Linked DNA regions of Homo sapiens: all the other regions are linked to region 1. The links are contacts of gene promoters, found by promoter capture Hi-C in human tissues and cell types (Jung and others, 2019). All regions are on one chromosome and are shown on one strand. The core of a region is centred on a gene start or on the middle of the fragment in contact, and the rest is flanking DNA. Distances in the headings are between cores, read along the strand shown. Region 1 holds the start of SALL3 (spalt like transcription factor 3). Region 2 overlaps LOC105372225 (a long non-coding RNA gene). Region 3 has its middle 43 kb from the start of LINC01896.

Evidence for each region. Contacts are between HindIII fragments. The study calls those that stand out against the background at their distance.
Region 2: a contact is called between a fragment that was not itself captured here and the fragment with the promoter of SALL3 in region 1, in 6 of the 25 tissues and cell types used here (IMR-90 fibroblasts, adrenal gland, bladder and 3 more).
Region 3: a contact is called between a fragment that was not itself captured here and the fragment with the promoter of SALL3 in region 1, in 3 of the 25 tissues and cell types used here (adrenal gland, pancreas and spleen).

Annotation. Positions count from the first base shown.
Region 1 is chr18:78,977,992-78,981,704 of GRCh38, reverse strand. It overlaps SALL3 (spalt like transcription factor 3), which reads right to left and starts at 1,887. Exons shown (of 3, transcript NM_171999.4): 1 at 1,349-1,887. The coding sequence starts at 1,430. It overlaps LINC01896 (long intergenic non-protein coding RNA 1896), which reads left to right and starts at 2,014. Exons shown (of 5, transcript NR_187297.1): 1 at 2,014-2,665; 2 at 2,967-3,242. RefSeq lists an enhancer at 1-470. The HindIII fragment of the contact is 21,440 bases long and covers 1-3,713 here.
Region 2 is chr18:79,013,785-79,017,135 of GRCh38, reverse strand. All of the region lies in intron 2 of LOC105372225 (a long non-coding RNA gene), which reads left to right. Among named protein-coding and RNA genes, the nearest start is that of SALL3, 36 kb to the right of the region's middle. The HindIII fragment of the contact is 9,218 bases long and covers 1-3,351 here.
Region 3 is chr18:78,935,356-78,938,672 of GRCh38, reverse strand. No RefSeq gene overlaps it. Among named protein-coding and RNA genes, the nearest start is that of LINC01896, 43 kb to the left of the region's middle. RefSeq lists an enhancer at 2,532-3,317. The HindIII fragment of the contact is 3,911 bases long and covers 1-3,317 here.

The DNA.
Region 1 (3,713 bases), core at 638-3,137:
TTAGCATATCGCCTGTTCTCATCTTGGCTGACTTGGCTACACAGATAAGACTCCCTTACCTCCACCGCAACAAAAAGACCCCAGCGAGCTCACTAATTTTATTTAATTCATTAATTCTCCAGCCGCGTCATAAGCATGCTCTCTCGTTCTCATCCGACATGGGTGTCTACCCGCTTTGTCAAACTTTACTCCACTGTGTGGGAAACTCTTCCGCCCCGTTTCCTTTTCGCAGACAGTCTCATTCTCAGAGTAAAAAGATCACCATCTGCCTCCAACAACTTATAACAGGTCAATCATAAAAGTTGGCCTGCCTGTTTTTTTAAGGAGCAAATTATTTTACTGCGAGCTGTGCTGCGGGCTCGGGGTCGTGGGGTCGCCCCTCCTCGGCCCTCTTTCCTGGCGCCCTGGGGGCCCCGCGGGGCGCGCCGAAGCCCGGGCGCCGCCGGCCGAGGTTTTGACTCGACGAAGGGGGTGGGGGCGCCCCAAACTTTGCGGGGCTAAGGCGCCACTCTGGGAAGTCCAGCCCTTTGCCAGTCTCTTAACTTTCGCGGCGCCTGCCCTTTGCTCTTGGATGTTTCGAAGAGGACGCTCCTACCAGCGAAATGACTGCAAAGCCGAGGTCTCCAGCGCCCGGCCTCGGCGGATCCAAAAAGACGGGAGAGAAAAGGCCCGCGCAGACGCTGCAACGAACGCCCCGGAAACACGCCGCGAGCAGGGGCCAGGCCCAGGCCGCCGCCGCTGCGCTCACCCCCAGCTTAATTCCCCGGGCGGCCATTAGGCAGAGCCAAGCCCCCGACCTTCTCCTCGCCTCGCGAGGGATCACAGGCTGCGTCAACGCGCTGGGACACCGCGGGTCACCCGAGGCGGTGCGGGGGCCCGGGAGGGGCCGCGGGCCCCCGAACAAAGCTGGCCGGGCGGCGGGGTCCCCAACCCGCGTCCAGCGGTAGGTGGGCTGCGGTCGCCTTCCCCGCCGCCGCCGGCCTCAGCGTCCTGGCGCAGAGACCCTGGGGGGCGGCGCGGCGGCGGAGGCACCGTGGACTCCCTCCCGCCCCGGCCTCCGAGCCGTCCTCGAGCCGGCCGCGGCCTCGGCGCCCTTCGCGGGCAGCTCCCCGACTCCGAGGAGAGGAGCCAAGTTTACTTCGCCCACAACTCTCTCGGCGGCCGCGCGCGCTCCGGCGAAGTACCCGGGGCCCCGCGGCCGGCCTGGCGCGGGGCGGACGCTTGCCCGCAGGAAGCAGGGAACTTTCTCCCGCTCCCGGACGCGCGCATCCGCTCCCGCCGCACGCGCTTCCCCAGCCCGGACGGGCAGCCCCAGACCCCCCGGCCACCCCGCAGCCCCGGCCCTCACCGTGCTCGGGAGCCCCGTCAGGCGGCAGCAGCTCCTCGTCCGACTTGAGGTGCTGGGGCTTGGCCTGCTTGCGCCGAGACATGCTGCTAGCGGCGCTCGGGCCCCGCGCGGGGCAGCGGCATCAGCGGGGCGGCCGGCGGGGACGGCGCGGGGCGGCCTGGCGGGCGCGCGGCGCGGGGCGCGGGGCGGCGGCGGCTGCGCGGGCCGCGCATGGGGCTGAGCAATTAGGCTGGTGAATAATGCATGGCCATTAGCGGAGGGCCGCGCCGATTGGCCGGGCTCCAGCGGACTCCGGCGGCCTATGCAAATGAGGCCGCGCTCGCAATTAGCGGCCGCGCCGACGAGGAGGGGGCCGCGGCGCCTCGGGACCGGGGCGCGCGCTGCCCGGCGCCGCCTCACATCGCGGGCTCCGGCGCCGCGCTCCTCGGCCGCCCCGGGTGCGGCTGTGGCGGGGCCCGGGTGCGGCGCGGGCCGCGGTGGCCGTCCCTCCGCAGGGCGCAGGCAGCAAACTTTGGCGGCGTCCGCGCGGCGCCGTCTCCGCCGGCGCGCCGGGCTCGCCCCTTTATAGAGTGTCTGCGCCGCCGCCCGCGCCCCCCCCGCCGCCGCCGCCGGGCGGCCCCTCCCGGAGCGAGCGGCCGCGGGCAGGGCTCCGACCCGGCGCCTTTGTCTCGCCCGGGCCGCTCGGGCGCCGCGCCTCCTGTTCCGGGCGCGCGGGGTCGGCCGGCCGCCTTCGCTGCTCCGCCGCGGCTCTCAGCGCCGCTCAGCGCGGCGGGCCCGCCCGGGCTCAGGTGCCCCCCGCTCTCCGGACCTTCTCGCCCGGCCCCGCGTCCCCTCCGCGGGCTTCCCCCGGCGGCCGGCCGGGCTCGGAGGCTCGCGGCCGGAGCGGAGCGGAGTGCGCACGCCGGGGTGGCAGGACTTCGGCAAGACCAACTTTCCGGTTCGGAAGCGGCGCGGGCCGCGCGGCTCCTCCCCTCCTCTCCCTCCCCTGCGTTCCCCCTCCCTTCCACTCCCCCCTCTCCCCGCCCCCCAACCCGCGGGCCCCACCGACTCCGGAGCGCCCGCCCCGCCCGCTGCTGCCACCGGGCCGCCTCGCCCCCGCGCCAGCCCGCCTGGGCCTCTGCGCCGCCGGCGGCTTCTTAAATACAGGAAAGGGAGGGGACCGCAGGGCCCCGGTGTTCCCCACCCTAGTCCCCCTTCACCACGGGCCACCGGGCGCCAGCGGAGTGGGCAGCGAGCGCGACCGAAAGTTCCAACTCCACCAAACTCCCGCGCGCGGCCCACCCTTTCCCGGGATTTCGGGGATGACACGGGGGCCAGGTGAGGGGGCTGCGCACTTCTGGATCGGCCCCACACACTCGGCCCCTGGCGCGGCGCGCTCCCCGCACACGCGCCCGCCCCCTCCCCGCGGTCACACGCACGCGCCCTCGCCCTCGCCCCGCGCGCACAGGCGCGTACTCCCACCCGCGGCCGTGCACCCGCCGCGCTCCTTCCCGCGCGTGTCCTCTCTCCCCGAGCGGCCGCCAGGATGTGCCCCCGGCCCCGTCGTCGCCGCGCCCGCGCCCCTCGCCCCAGTACGTCTTTTTTCGTTTCCTAAATTTCTTATTTTTGTCCTTGCAAGTGGTCCTGTCTGGTGTGAACCGTCAGCACAGATGGCCTCCTGGAGCTTCCCCGAGTCGTTCGCTGGGGGAAGCGGGCGGTGAGCGGCCAGCCCGGGCGCTCCGCAGGCCGCGAGCTCCCGGCAGGGCTGGTGGCGGGGGTCCGCCTGGGGGAGGAATCCCCGCCTGCTCCATCGGACCCGGCCTGGCGCGGCTCGCGGCGCTCGGCGGGCTCCCTTCCATTCTAGAATCTTCCCGCTTGCTTCCCAGCCCGCGTTCTTCCGCCTGCCTTTAATTGTGTAAGTTTGACGAAGTCAGAGCTTTGGGTTCCAGGAAAAGCGCAGGAGGGTCATAGAGGAAGGGAGGGCGCAGGTTGGAGTCAGGTCCAAACAGTCCCTATCGCCACTTTTGAAAAAAAAAAAAAACAACAAAAACCCTTAAGGTTGGTTTTATTTTGCCTTTTGGTAGCGGGCGTATTCATTTAGATTTTTTTTTCAAGACAGGCAAATAAAAGGTGTTTGAAATCTCTAGTTATCCCGTTTAACACACCCATCGATGGCGCTTTTCTAGTTAAGCTACGGGGGAAACGTCTTTATCCCGCAGTTAGGCTGCGAACTTGTGCAGATGCTCAGGCTTTGTGGAGACGCTCCGGCATCTGGCGCAGAGGCGCCCGGCGGGGAAAAGTTTGCAGCCCGGGCTTTGGGGCGCGCGGGGGGCAGGAATTTTTCTGAGAAGAGAGGGGCATAGAGAGGCGGCGCGGGTGGGGAGAG
Region 2 (3,351 bases), core at 686-3,185, 35 kb before region 1:
ATTTAAGTAGTAAGGAGGGGACTGATCCCACACCCGGTCATGAGGTGTGTTGGATTTAAGTAGTAAGGAGGGGACTGATCACACACCCGGTCATGAGGTGTGTTTGATTTAAGTAGTAAGGAGGGGACTGATCACACACCCGGTCATGGAGTGTGTTTGATTTAAGTAGTAAGGAGGGGGCTGATCACACACCCGGTCATGCAGTGTGTTTGATTTAAGTAGTAAGGAGGGGGCTGATCACACACCTGGTCATGCAGTGTGTTTGATTTAAGTAGTAAGGAGGGGGCTGATCACACTCCCGGTCATGCAGTGTGTTTGATTTAAGTAGTAAGGAGGGGGCTGATCCCACACCCGGTCATGCAGTGTGTTTGATTTAAGTAGTAAGGAGGGGACTGATCACACACCTGGTCATGCAGTGTGTTTGATTTAAGTAGTAAGGAGGGGACTGATCACACACCCGGTCATGCAGTGTGTTTGATTTAAGTAGTAAGGAGGGGGGGACTGATCACACACCCGGTCATGGAGTGTGTTTGATTTAAGTAGTAAGGAGGGGGCTGATCACACACCCGGTCATGGAGTGTGTTTGATTTAAGTAGTAAGGAGGGGGCTGATCCCACACCCGGTCATGCAGTGTGTTTGATTTAAGTAGTAAGGAGGGGGCTGATCACACACCCGGTCATGGAGTGTGTTTGATTTAAGTAGTAAGGAGGGGGACTGATCCCACACCCGGTCATGGAGTGTGTTTGATTTAAGTAGTAAGGAGGGGACTGATCCCACACCCGGTCATGCAGTGTGTTTGATTTAAGTAGTAAGGAGGGGGCTGATCACACACCCGGTCATGAGGTGTGTTTGATTTAAGTAGTAAGGAGGGGGCTGATCACACACCCGGTCATGGAGTGTGTTTGATTTAAGTAGTAAGGAGGGGACTGATCCCACACCCGGTCATGCAGTGTGTTTGATTTAAGTAGTAAGGAGGGGGGGACTGATCACACACCCGGTCATGGAGTGTGTTTGATTTAAGTAGTAAGGAGGGGGCTGATCACACACCCGGTCATGGAGTGTGTTTGATTTAAGTAGTAAGGAGGGGGCTGATCCCACACCCGGTCATGCAGTGTGTTTGATTTAAGTAGTAAGGAGGGGGCTGATCACACACCCGGTCATGGAGTGTGTTTGATTTAAGTAGTAAGGAGGGGGCTGATCCCACACCCGGTCATGGAGTGTGTTTGATTTAAGTAGTAAGGAGGGGACTGATCCCACACCCGGTCATGCAGTGTGTTTGATTTAAGTAGTAAGGAGGGGGCTGATCACACACCCGGTCATGAGGTGTGTTTGATTTAAGTAGTAAGGAGGGGGCTGATCACACACCCGGTCATGGAGTGTGTTTGATTTAAGTAGTAAGGAGGGGGCTGATCCCACACCCGGTCATGCAGTGTGTTTGATTTAAGTAGTAAGGAGGGGGGTGATCCCACACCCGGTCATGCAGTGTGTTTGATTTAAGTAGTAAGGAGGGGGGGACTGATCACACACCCGGTCATGCAGTGTGTTTGATTTAAGTAGTAAGGAGGGGACTGATCCCACACCCGGTCATGCAGTGTGTTTGATTTAAGTAGTAAGGAGGGGACTGATCCCACACCCGGTCATGCAGTGTGTTTGATTTAAGTAGTAAGGAGGGGACTGATCCCACACCCGGTCATGCAGTGTGTTTGATTTAAGTAGTAAGGAGGGGGGGACTGATCACACACCCGGTCATGGAGTGTGTTTGATTTAAGTAGTAAGGAGGGGGCTGATCACACACCCGGTCATGGAGTGTGTTTGATTTAAGTAGTAAGGAGGGGGCTGATCACACACCCGGTCATGAGGTGTGTTTGATTTAAGTAGTAAGGAGGGGGCTGATCACACACCCGGTCATGGAGTGTGTTTGATTTAAGTAGTAAGGAGGGGACTGATCACACACCCGGTCATGCAGTGTGTTTGATTTAAGTAGTAAGGAGGGGACTGATCCCACACCCGGTCATGCAGTGTGTTTGATTTAAGTAGTAAGGAGGGGACTGATCCCACACCCGGTCATGCAGTGTGTTTGATTTAAGTAGTAAGGAGGGGGCTGATCACACTCCCGGTCATGCAGTGTGTTTGATTTAAGTAGTAAGGAGGGGGCTGATCCCACACCCGGTCATGCAGTGTGTTTGATTTAAGTAGTAAGGAGGGGGCTGATCCCACACCCGGTCATGGAGTGTGTTTGATTTAAGTAGTAAGGAGGGGACTGATCACACACCTGGTCATGCAGTGTGTTTGATTTAAGTAGTAAGGAGGGGGCTGATCCCACACCCGGTCATGCAGTGTGTTTGATTTAAGTAGTAAGGGGGGAACTGATCCCACACCCGGTCATGCAGTGTGTTTGATTTAAGTAGTAAGGGGGGAACTGATCCCACACCCGGTCATGCAGTGTGTTTGATTTAAGTAGTAAGGAGGGGGCTGATCACACACCCGGTCATGAGGTGTCTTTGATTTAAGTAGTAAGGAGGGGGCTGATCACACACCCGGTCATGCAGTGTGTTTGATTTAAGTAGTAAGGAGGGGGCTGATCACACACCCGGTCATGCAGTGTGTTTGATTTAAGTAGTAAGGAGGGGGCTGATCCCACACCCGGTCATGGAGTGTGTTTGATTTAAGTAGTAAGGAGGGGGCTGATCCCACACCCGGTCATGCAGTGTGTTTGATTTAAGTAGTAAGGAGGGGGCTGATCACACACCCGGTCATGCAGTGTGTTTGATTTAAGTAGTAAGGAGGGGGCTGATCACACACCCGGTCATGCAGTGTGTTTGATTTCTCAGGTTTTTCCAAATCCAATTAATTAGGTGTTCATTTCTAATGTGGCCTTTGAACCAAATACCCGTCGGGCAGGTGGCAGGCATACCCTGGTCCATTCCACGGGAGATGCTCTGGCATAACTCAGGGCCTGGCAGATGTCTGTCCCGCTGCATCTGGAGCAAATGGAGTTACCATTTCCTGTGTTAAAAGTCTCTGTTCAGCTGCCTCAGCAGCGTGTTTCTTTCTGTTGAAAGTCCTTCGCCCTGGCACAGTTTCACATTCCTGCCATGGGTCCCGGAGCCCGGGAAGGTTCTCACTGTCGCTAGGCTGATGGGACTTCAAGAGTTTGCTTTCGGCATTTAAGAAAAATGTTACCTTTATAAAAAGAGTTTTGGTTCTGCTATTATTTCTATTACCCAAAACACACCTAAGTGCTTCAATTATGCAGACATTTAAGAACTTATTGTATATTTTCCTCAACAATTGTTTATGCCCTTTTTGCTGAAGATAAATATTTTATCTCGGCTGTGGAAGTGACTTCTT
Region 3 (3,317 bases), core at 316-2,815, 43 kb after region 1:
CAATTACTGTCCAACTCCGATGAGACTCCAATGGAGAGAAATGTCATCATTATTGAGTACTGGAGGGACAGATATTTTGGTGACAGATTAGAGCTTGTAGCAAAACTCAGATGACAATGCAAAGCCACTGCCTCTTTTGCCTGAAAATTGGACTGAACACCTTCTTGTATCCCAGATTTTGCCCTTTGAAAAAGGCAGCTATGATTCAGAGAAGCCAACAATCATAGATATTTATGAGATAATTGGGGCATTTGATAATATGAAGACACTTGTTAGGTATTTAAGATGTGATAGGCCAGGCGCGGTGGCTCACACCTGTAATCCCAGCACTTTGGGAGGCCGAGATGGGCAAATTACCTGAGGTCAGGAGTTCGAGACCAGCCTGGCCAGCATGGTGAAACCCCGTCTCTACTTAAAATACAAAAAATTATCTGGGTGTGTTGCTACGCACCTGTAATCCCAGATACTTGGGAGGCTGAGGCAGGAGAATCGCTTGAACCCGGGAGGCGGAGGATGCAGTGAGCCAAGATCGTGCCACTGTACTCCAGACTGGGGGACAAGAGCGAGACTTTGTCTCAAAAAAAAGAAAAAAAAAGTGATGATGATAGGATTAGGTTAAACAAGCAGAGGTGTTTGCCAATGAGATAATATGCCCGGGATTTGCTTTAAAACAACACAAAGCGGGCCAGGCACAGTGGCTCATGCCTGTAACCCCAGCACTTTGGGAGGCCGAGGTGGGCGGATCACAAGGTCAAGAGATCCAGACCATCCTGGCCAATGTGGTGAAACCCCATCTCTACTAAAAATACAAAAATTAGCTGGGCATGGTGGTGCATGCCTGTATTCCCAGCTACTTGGGAGGCTGAGGAAGGAGAATCGCTTGAACCCGGGAGGTGGAGGTTGCAGTGAGCCGAGATTGCGCCATTACACTCCAGCCTGGCAACAGAGCAAGACTCCATCTCAAAAAAAAAAAAAAACCCAAAAAACCCCAACCAACCAATCAACCAACCGAACAAGCAAAAAACACAGAGCGGGTGGAGAATTGGGGAGCATGAGCTGAATCGCCCGTGTGTCGACAGCAGCAGAAGCCGGGTGGTGACGGGCGCTCCGGCTTCGCTGTATTGATCCATCCATCTTTATGCATGTTTGGAAATTTTTGTAAGATGTTTGTTTGTTAAAGGTCAGCTATTACCCATGGTGACAGACCTGAGATCAAGCTCAGTGGTCTGGCCCCTGGGCAACCACCAGCCCCATCTCTTCACAGCTGAGATCAAGCCAAGTGGTCTGGTCCCTGGGCAACCACCAGCCCCATCCCTTCACAGCTGAGATCAAGCCGAGTGGTCTGGTCCCTGGGCAACCACCAGCCCCATCTCTCCACAGGTTGGTTTGAATTGGGGCAAATGCACATCCCTTGAGAGAAGGGAGTTTGGAATATTCATCCTCTCTGCCTCTTTTCTTTTGCATGTGACTGTCCACCTTCCCAGCTCATCTCCTGTCTTTCGTCAGCACCTGTCTGTGGGGGAAAAGGTTAGGTCAGGTTTTAGTGGGTCATTTCAGATTTTGCAGTAAGACTTGCTACCATTTATTGAACCCAGGTATCACATTATATGTTCTGCATATATTCCCTTTAATCTTCTCAATCATACTGAAATGTAGCTTTCATAACCCAATTTTATGCATGAGAAAACCGAGGTTTGGAGATGGTCTGCACTGAGAGAGGCCGAGCCAGGTATGAGCCTGGGCTCCAGCCCTGCCCTGCCCGTCTCCCGGTTCGTGGCCTTCCTGAGCTCTGGCCCCGCCCTACCTGTCTCCTCTTCCGTGCGGCCTTCCTGGACTGTGCTACCGCCCTGCCCACATCCCTGGCCCGACGTCTTCCTGGTCGGTGCTCCTGCCCTACCCACATCCCTGGCCCTCAGCCTTCCTGGGCTGTGCCCCTGCCCTGCCCACCTCCCTGGCCCTCAGCCTTCCTGGGCTGTGCCCCCGCCCCGCCCACCTCCCTGGCCCTCAGCCTTCCTGGGCTGTGCCCCCTCCCTGCCCACCTCCCCGGCTCTCGGCCTGTGCCAGCAAAGCAGCCCTGCTTCTGCCTCCACAGACACTCAGGTCCCAGGCTGGGCCTGGTCATCCTTGCAGCTGGAAACTCTTGGCGGAGTGTGAGCCCCACTAAGGCCAGGCAGCTAACGTAGATACCTGAGTTTATTCTTTGATCTCCGAGGCAGTCTGGGCCCATGGTGTGGACCTGGAAGCGTGCGTGTGTGCTCACGGGTGGAATTTGGCCGTTAGCTGCACCTGTGCTCCCGCGCTGCCTGGCGGCCATCCCTGATTTCTCTGCCCTGGCCAGGGCGTGCTGATTTGCTCTGGTTCCTTTTTCATTTCTCTGATGGTCGATGGAAACTATTAGTTCATTTCCAGCATTGGACAAATGTCAGTTACTTAGCTAGGGTCACGGGTTTTGATGGGAGAATTGGGCTAATGGTAGTGATGCCAGTGATTTCTCGGCTGTCATTGTAGATGGCAGAGATATTCCATCTCTCACTGAAGGCAGCCCAGTGGATTTTAGTCAAGTTAATTCGAATTGCACTCTAAAGCTAAATGAAATGTTTATTTCTATGTTGGTAAATGGTATAGAAAAAGCTGCTATTGAAATGACATTTATTCATAATTTGGTCTGTTAGGAATATGCACGCTGAATGCTGATTTGTTTACCTAGATGGAAAATTGTCTCTTACGGAGATGAAAAGCATACCAGATTTCAGTTTCTTATGGTGCGTGTGTGTGTGTGTATGTGTGTGCGCACCTGCTCACACATTGTGCGAGCACTCACCACACTGAAGGGGTTTTGTAGACATTGCTTCACGATTCTCACACCTCCACCTGAGGTTTGTGATACTGTCCCTTTGTTGTCACCATCACTGCAGCTGTTGTGCAGACAAAACCACTCAGCTTCCTGAGGCCAAGTCACTCACCCAAGGTCACTGGCTCACAGGGCAGGGCTGGGCACAGTCTGGCCAGCCCCCAGTCTCCCGCCCGGTGCTTCTCCCTCCCCATGTCTGAGCCAAAGCCTGCAAGTCCTCATGTTGGCACCCACCCGTCTACCCACATGCACCCCTGGGAGACTGCTGGCTCTGTTCTCGGCTCGCCGTGGAATTTCTCCCAGGGCCACCCATGTTCACACACGGACACAGGGACTCCTGGACCCAAGCAGGCCTATGTATTCGTTCCCCAGATAATCAGAGGCACCGATAAAATAAAGCTTCCAGCTGATGGGCATCCGACAGACAGGGCTGTTAGTTTATGTGGGCTATAGGCAGAGTCGACTG